2 separate regions of the Homo sapiens genome follow, and region 1 is linked to region 2. Evidence: promoter capture Hi-C in 16 types of primary human blood cells and fetal thymus (Javierre and others, 2016). All regions are on one chromosome and are shown on one strand. The core of a region is centred on a gene start or on the middle of the fragment in contact, and the rest is flanking DNA. Distances in the headings are between cores, read along the strand shown.

Region 1 (3,622 bases), core at 746-3,245, 2.3 Mb before region 2:
ATTGTTTCATATATTTTATCTGGTTTCTTCAGTTGTTTTAGGCAGGAGGGTAAATCCAGTCCTTGTTACTCCACCTTGGCCAGAAACGGTTTTTGTTTTGGTTTGTTTGTTTGTTTAGACAGAGTCTCCCTCTATTGCCCAGACTGGCGTGAAGTGGCGTGATCTCGGCTCATTGCAACCTCTGCCTCCTGGGTTCAAGTGATTCTTCCAACTCAGGAGACACGGGCCACCACACCTGTGTTGTGGGAAGTCAGGGACCCTGAACAGAGGGACCGGCTGGAGCCGTGGCAGAGGAACATAAATTGTGAAGATTTCATAGACATTTACCAGTTCCCAAATAATACTTTCATAATTTCTTTCTCCTGTCTTACTTTAATCTCTTAATCCTATTATCTTCGTAAACTGAGGATGTATGTCACCTCAGGACCACTATTGTGTTAACTGTACAAATTGAATGTAAAACATGTGTGTTTGAACAATATGAAATCATTGCACCTTGAAAAAGAATAGAATAACAGCGATTTTCAGGGAACAAGGGAAGACAACTATAAGGTCTGACTGCCTGCGGGGTTGGGCAAAATAGAGCCATATTTTTCTTCTTGCAGAGAGCCTATAAATGGAGGTGCAAGTAGGGAAGATATCGCTAAATTCTTTTCCTAGCAAGGATTAATACTCTGGGAAAGGAATGCATTCCTGTGGGGAGGTCTATAAACGGCTTCTTTGGGAGTGTCTGTCTTTTTTTTTTTTTTTTTTTTTTTTTTTGAGACGGAGTCTCACTCTGTCGCCCAGGTCGGACTGCGGACTGCAGTGGCGCAATCTCGGCTCACTGCAAGCTCCGCTTCCCGGGTTCACGCCATTCTCCTGCCTCAGCCTCCCGAGGGGAGTGTCTGTCTTACATGGTTGAGATAAGGACTGAAATATGCCCTGGTCTCCTGCAGTACCCTCAGGCTTACTAGGGTGGGGAAAAACCCTGCCCCACTAAATTTGAGGTCAGCCTGGTTCTCTGCTCTCAAACCCTGTTTTCTGTTGTTTAAGATGTTTATAAAGACAATACGTGCACCACTGAACATAGACCCTTATCAGTAATTCTGCTTTTGCCCTTTGCCTTGTGATCTTGTTTTTGCCCTTTGCTTTGTGATCTTTGCCTTTGCCCTTTGTCTTGTGATCTTTGTTAGACCCTTATTAGGAGTTTCTGATTTTTCCCTTAGAAGCATGTGATCTTTGTGACCTACTCCCTGTTCTTGCACCCCCTCCCCTTTTGAAATCCTTAATAAAACTTGCTGGCTTTAAGGCTCAGGTGGGCATCACGGTCCTACCGATGTGATGTCACCCCCAGAGGCCCAGCTGTAAAATTCCTCTCTTTGTACTCTTTCTCTTTATTTTTCTCAGCCGGCTGACACTTATGGAAAATAGAAAGAACCTATGTTGAAATATTGGGGGCAGGTTCCCCTGATATGCCCAGATAGTTTTTGTATCTATTGTAGAGATGGGGTTTCACTATGTTGGCCAGGCTGGTCTCAAACTCCTGACCTCAAGTGATCCACCCGCCTCGGCCTCCCAAAGTACTGGGATTACAGGCATGAGTCATCACACCCAGCCCAGAAACAGTTTTTGAATTGGATCTTGAATCAGAAAAACAATTATCTATAAAAGTCTTAATTGAAGGCTGGGCGTAGTGGCTCATGCCTGTAATCTCAGCACTTTAGGAGGATGAGATGGGGAGATCACGAGGTAAAGAGATCGAGATCATCCTGGATAACATGGTGAAAATCCATCTCTACTTAAAAAAAAAAATACAAAATTTACCCGGGCATGGTGGTGCATGCCTGTAGTCCCAGCTACTCAGGAGGCTGATGCAGGACAATCACTTGAACCTGAGAAGGGGAGATTGTAGTGAGCCGAGATTGTGCCACAGCACTGCAGCCTGGGTGACAGAGTAAGACTCCATCTCAAGAAAAAAAAAAAAAAGACTTAATTGAGACAATCAGTGAAATTTGAACATGGACTGTACATTATAGATTAGATATTATATCTTTGTTAAATTTTTCTGATTTTGAGCACTGTACCATGGTTATCTGAGAATTTTATCCTTGCTGATAGAAAATATACAGCTAAGAACTTAGGAGTAAAGTGGAATGATTCCTACAACTGACTCTCAAATGATTAAGAAAAATAAATACATAATATACACAAATAGCAAAAATTATGAAGCAAATGTGCCAAAATATTAATGATGGAATTATCTTGGTGAAGGATATATGATAATTCAATTTTTTTTTTTCTGAGATGGAGTTTCAGTCTGTCACCCAGGCTGGGGTACAATGGCATGATCTTGGCTCACTGTAACCTCCGCCTCCCAGGTTCAAGCAATTCTCCTGCCTCAGCCTCCTGAGTAGCTGAGCTTACAGGTGTGCACCACTACACCCAGCTAATTTTTATATTTTTAGTAGAGATGGGGTTTCACTATGTTCTCAAACTCCTGACATCGTGATCCATCTGCCTCAGCCTCTCAAAATGCTGGGATTACAGGCAGGAGCAACCATGCCTGGCCTATAGGAGAATTCTTTATCCTACTTTTGCAATTTATTTATAAGTTAAAGATTACTTCAGGCCAGGTGCAGTGGCTCACGTCTGTAATCCCAGCACTTTGGGAGGTGGAGGTGGACAGATCACCTGAAGTCAGGATTTCAAGACCAGCCTGCCAACATGGTGAAACCCCAACTCTACTAAAAATAGAAAAAAATAGCCGGGTATGGTGGCAAACACCTGTAATCCCAGCTACTTGGGAGGCTGATGCACAAGAATAGCTTGAACCTGGGAGATGGAAGTTGCAGTAAGCCGAGATTGCACCACTGCACTCCGGCCTGGGTGATAGAGTGAGACTCTATCTAAAAAAAAAATTAAAAATAAGATTACCTCAAAATAAATGAGTAAAAGAAATTGCAATAATAAATTGCAAAACTGGTCTTTATTGTTAGAAGTGAGGATGGGGGCTGGGTGCAGTGGCTCACGCCTGTAATCTCAGCATTTTCCAAGGCCGAGGTGGGTGGATCATCTGAGGTCAGGAGTTCCAGACCAGCCTGGCCAACATGGTGAAACCCTGTCTCTACTAAAAATGCAGAAAATTAGCCAAGCATGGTGGCACATGCCTGTAATCCCAGCTACTCAGGAGGCTGAAGCAGGAGAATCACTTGAACCAAGGAGGCAGAGGTTGCAGTGAGCTGAGATCGTGCCATTGCACTCCAGTCTGGGCAACAAGAGAGAAACTCCATCTCAAAAAAAAAAAAAAAAAACCAGAAATCAAGATGGGGCTACTTTTGAGAGGGAGAGAAATGACCAATAAAGAATGGGTCATTCAAGGAGACTTCAGGCACTGGTAATATTGTCTTTGAACTCCTTGGTGTTTACATGTTTGTGTTTACCTCTCTTCATCATTCACTTATCAATTATACAGTGATACACATGCCATTGCATACTTTTATATTTTTTATACTTCAATAAAAACATTTTTAAGTAAAATTAAACTATTCAGATATAACACCTTGAGGATTGCTTTCTTTCTGTGTCTTCTTTCCTGAATCCCTAGTGAAGTCCTCAGGTCAGGGTGATAGTCTCCTAGGTG
Region 2 (3,839 bases), core at 793-3,292:
ACTTTAGTTTTTCCAAAACAAAAGTGGGAAGGAAGTGTTGTTTTTCAGTATAAAGAGGTTCAACTCTATAGACTAAAACTAAAAAAGTTAAAAAGATAGGGGGGTATAACTATAGATTGGTGGATATGCCTAGAACACAGAACTTGCCAAAAACGGGGCGCTGGGGCAGGGTGCGGTCTGACAGTCTACTTGTAATATGTTTCATAATGAGGTTGCTAACTGAGCTACAGAAAGCAGGAGGAGGAAGACATAGATGCCATCAGCTCAAGCAATCTACAAATACTGCTGGTTATTTTTGTTTTATGACAAGAGTTGTTTCTGAACGGACAACCACGAGCTACCACCACCACCAGCAGCGCCCCGAAAACCGGAACTGGCCTCAAATGTACTTTTAATTCTTTTGCTCTGTCCCCACGCCCTCTGCAACTTTTGTTCTCCAACTGTACTTGTTCCGGTATGAAACCTGGCAAATAGCAAAAATCTTGAAACAAGAAGAGAGTGAGAGAGCGGAGAGAAAAGGGAGGGAAGGAAGGAGAGGGAGGAGGGGAAGAGGAGGAGGGGGGAGAGAAAGTGGTGGGGGAGAGAGAGAAGGAAAGGAGGTGGGGAGAGAGAGAGAGGGAAGACAGAAGAGAGGCAGGGAGGAAGAGGGAGAGAGGGGGACGGAGATGGGGAGGAGGCGGGAGGGAGGGAGAGAAAGAGAGAGAGAAACATATTCTGCCACCCTCCTGGCTAACTGAAATGCTTGTTCCCGAGATTACAGTAATTACTGCCCCAGCATGAGTTCCATACAAGCGCTAAATGAAACAGCACATCAATTAAAAAATAAACACTCCATTCTAGGAGAAAGACAGCCCCCTGGGACGCCCTAACAAGCGTAAATGAACCTGCCAGGCCGCCGGCCCGGGCCGCCCGCAGCCCCCCTCCCGGCCCGTCTTAAGGTGGCGGCGGAGCCGGCGGGGGCAGCGTTCGCTGGCGGTGGCCCAAGCGGCTGCTAAAAGCAGCCCGGGTCCGGCTCCGGCCTCGTGCAGAGAGCAGATACGTGTCGCGGAGTCCACGCCAGAGCGCAGCGCCGCCTCCCACCAGAGAAAAGGAGGCTCTGGCAAAAGCCTGTGAACTTGGGATGGATGAATAGACGTCCTGAAAGAACGAAGGGAAGACAGGGAATCCAGCCCCAGAGTTTCCAGCCTGTCCTATTTATAAGTTTCGAGGTTTGTTTTGAATTTTAGAAAGAAATTGAATGATTTTTCCTAAGAAAGCACGGCGGCTCGGGGCTTCCTATATTTTATCTCACCTAATTATCAAAGCCCCCTTGGAGATCTGTGCTATGATCACCCAACTCTCTAGGTGGGGAAACTGAGGCTCCCCCAGGTCACGCAGCGGAGGCGGGAGGAGAGTCTCTGGCGGGCATTTGTCCCCCGCGCCCCTCGCGCGCCCAAGGCTGGGCTCCGGGGCATCTCACCCGGGCCGTCCCGGGTCCAGCCCCAGTTTAGAATGACTCCACACCCCCCACATCTCCAAGTCTCAGAAACCATCGTTCTGAGAACCCCAAGGAGGACACCCTTTCCCGGGTCTTCTGCAGCGCCGAGCCCCGGCAGGCCTCCCCGGCGCTCGCCTGCTGCGAGACCTTCCTGCCGCCCCGAGGAGCACGAGACCCCAGCCGCCTGCAGATCACCCACATTTGCGGAGGGTGGCAGCAGGGGCTTGGCTGGTTTGAAACGCGCCGGGGAGGCGCGCGCTGCACCAAACCCCGTCCCTGTCCCCAAGGGCAGACTCGGGGTAAGGGGACCAAGACCTCCGACGCACTCAGCGCCATGGGGACAGCCATGGCCAACACTCTGTCTCTGCGGTCAATCCCAAGGTTACCAAAACTCTCCATCCGCAGAGAGCGCGCACAGCAGTGCGGACACTCGGGGACTGCCTTAAGGAAGGCTGAGCCCTGGGAGCGCGTGGACTCCGCCCTACCGCCCGGCGATTGGCTCGCGGGGCTGGGGGCGGAGACCGAGTCCGCGCTGTATAAATATTCATGAGCCGGCAGCGCGGCGCGAGCGGGGCTGGAGCCGGGAAGTTGGGCTAAGGGCGCTGCTCCCGCCGAGGAGGAGGCGGCGGCTGGGCGCGGGCCGCGCCACTCAGGTGTCCGCTCCGCCTTCCGGTCTGGATTTGCTCCTGGGTGTCCAGCAGGAAGGAGACTGTGTGCACCTCGCCCGACTGCGGCCGGAGCGCGGCGCTGACTTTTCCAGGCGGCGGGGGTCCGTCTGTCCCGGCGGCGGACGGACGAAGGACGGACGCCGGAGAAAGAGGGCGGCGGCCTGGGCCGAGGCGGGTCCCCAACTCCGGCGGCGGCGGCGGCGGCTTGGCCTTGGGGGCGGGCATGAGCCCCCGGGGGCCGAGTGGTGGCCGCCAGGGCTGACCCGGCGCGGCAAGCGGCCCGGCCCAGCCATCTTGACTGCGCACCGCGGCCCCAGAGGAAACTTGCGGCGCCTCCGCCCTCTCTGTCCGGCGGAGTCACCGCCGCCCGGCGCGGCGGGGAGAAGTGGTCGGGCGCGCGGAGAGGAGGCGAGCGAGCGCGGGACGATGAGCCGAGGCCCGGCCGCTCTGCGCCGCGAGGGCTGAGCGCGACCCGGGGCCAGCAGAGCGGACCTACGGACTGTGGCGCGCGCCTGCAGCCGCCTTCAAACCCCCGGAGCGGCGGAAAGGAGTGCGGAAGGGCCCTGCCCAGGCTGCGGGCCGCGCCGCTGCGGACGCGCCCCTAGAAGGGGTTAGATTATCGGCAGACCCCCCTCCCGGGCGAAGCATAAGGGAGACCCCAGATCACCCGCTGTACCCGTCTGCGGCTCTCTCGTGGGCCCCCCCCCCGGCACCCCTCTGCGCGCCGCCTGGAGGGCGAGGGCACCGGGCCGAGGCGCACAGCATGGAGTGGGGTTACCTGTTGGAAGTGACCTCGCTGCTGGCCGCCTTGGCGCTGCTGCAGCGCTCTAGCGGCGCTGCGGCCGCCTCGGCCAAGGAGCTGGCATGCCAAGAGATCACCGTGCCGCTGTGTAAGGGCATCGGCTACAACTACACCTACATGCCCAATCAGTTCAACCACGACACGCAAGACGAGGCGGGCCTGGAGGTGCACCAGTTCTGGCCGCTGGTGGAGATCCAGTGCTCGCCCGATCTCAAGTTCTTCCTGTGCAGCATGTACACGCCCATCTGCCTAGAGGACTACAAGAAGCCGCTGCCGCCCTGCCGCTCGGTGTGCGAGCGCGCCAAGGCCGGCTGCGCGCCGCTCATGCGCCAGTACGGCTTCGCCTGGCCCGACCGCATGCGCTGCGACCGGCTGCCCGAGCAAGGCAACCCTGACACGCTGTGCATGGACTACAACCGCACCGACCTAACCACCGCCGCGCCCAGCCCGCCGCGCCGCCTGCCGCCGCCGCCGCCCGGCGAGCAGCCGCCTTCGGGCAGCGGCCACGGCCGCCCGCCGGGGGCCAGGCCCCCGCACCGCGGCGGCGGCAGGGGCGGTGGCGGCGGGGACGCGGCGGCGCCCCCAGCTCGCGGCGGCGGCGGTGGCGGGAAGGCGCGGCCCCCTGGCGGCGGCGCGGCTCCCTGCGAGCCCGGGTGCCAGTGCCGCGCGCCTATGGTGAGCGTGTCCAGCGAGCGCCACCCGCTCTACAACCGCGTCAAGACAGGCCAGATCGCTAACTGCGCGCTGCCCTGCCACAACCCCTTTTTCAGCCAGGACGAGCGCGCCTTCACCGTCTTCTGGATCGGCCTGTGGTCGGTGCTCTGCTTCGTGTCCACCTTCGCCACCGTCTCCACCTTCCTTATCGACATGGAGCGCTTCAAGTACCCGGAGC

The links. Contacts are between HindIII fragments. The CHiCAGO score rates a contact against its expected background, and 5 or more counts as called.
Region 1: a contact is called between a fragment that was not itself captured here and the fragment with the promoter of FZD8 in region 2, in 1 of 17 cell types (naive CD8 T cells). The highest score is 5.1, in naive CD8 T cells.

What each region holds. Positions count from the first base shown.
Region 1 is chr10:37,980,330-37,983,951 of GRCh38, reverse strand. ZNF25-DT (ZNF25 divergent transcript) reads right to left here. Exons shown (of 6, transcript XR_930830.4): 2 at 3,542-3,622. Among named protein-coding and RNA genes, the nearest start is that of ZNF25-DT, 5.4 kb to the right of the region's middle. The HindIII fragment of the contact is 7,521 bases long and covers 1-3,622 here.
Region 2 is chr10:35,640,499-35,644,337 of GRCh38, reverse strand. It overlaps FZD8 (frizzled class receptor 8), which reads left to right and starts at 2,042. Exons shown (of 1, transcript NM_031866.3): 1 at 2,042-3,839. The coding sequence starts at 2,909. It overlaps LOC124902528 (zinc finger protein 469-like), which reads left to right and starts at 1,492. Exons shown (of 2, transcript XM_047426128.1): 1 at 1,492-1,708; 2 at 1,925-2,610. The coding sequence starts at 1,492. The coding sequence ends at 2,610. MIR4683 (microRNA 4683) reads left to right here and starts at 3,086; the gene lies at 3,086-3,166. It overlaps LOC105376494 (a long non-coding RNA gene), which reads right to left and starts at 1,023. Exons shown (of 2, transcript XR_930820.3): 1 at 1-1,023. RefSeq lists a silencer at 3,494-3,583 and an enhancer at 3,694-3,839. The HindIII fragment of the contact is 11,239 bases long and covers 1-3,839 here.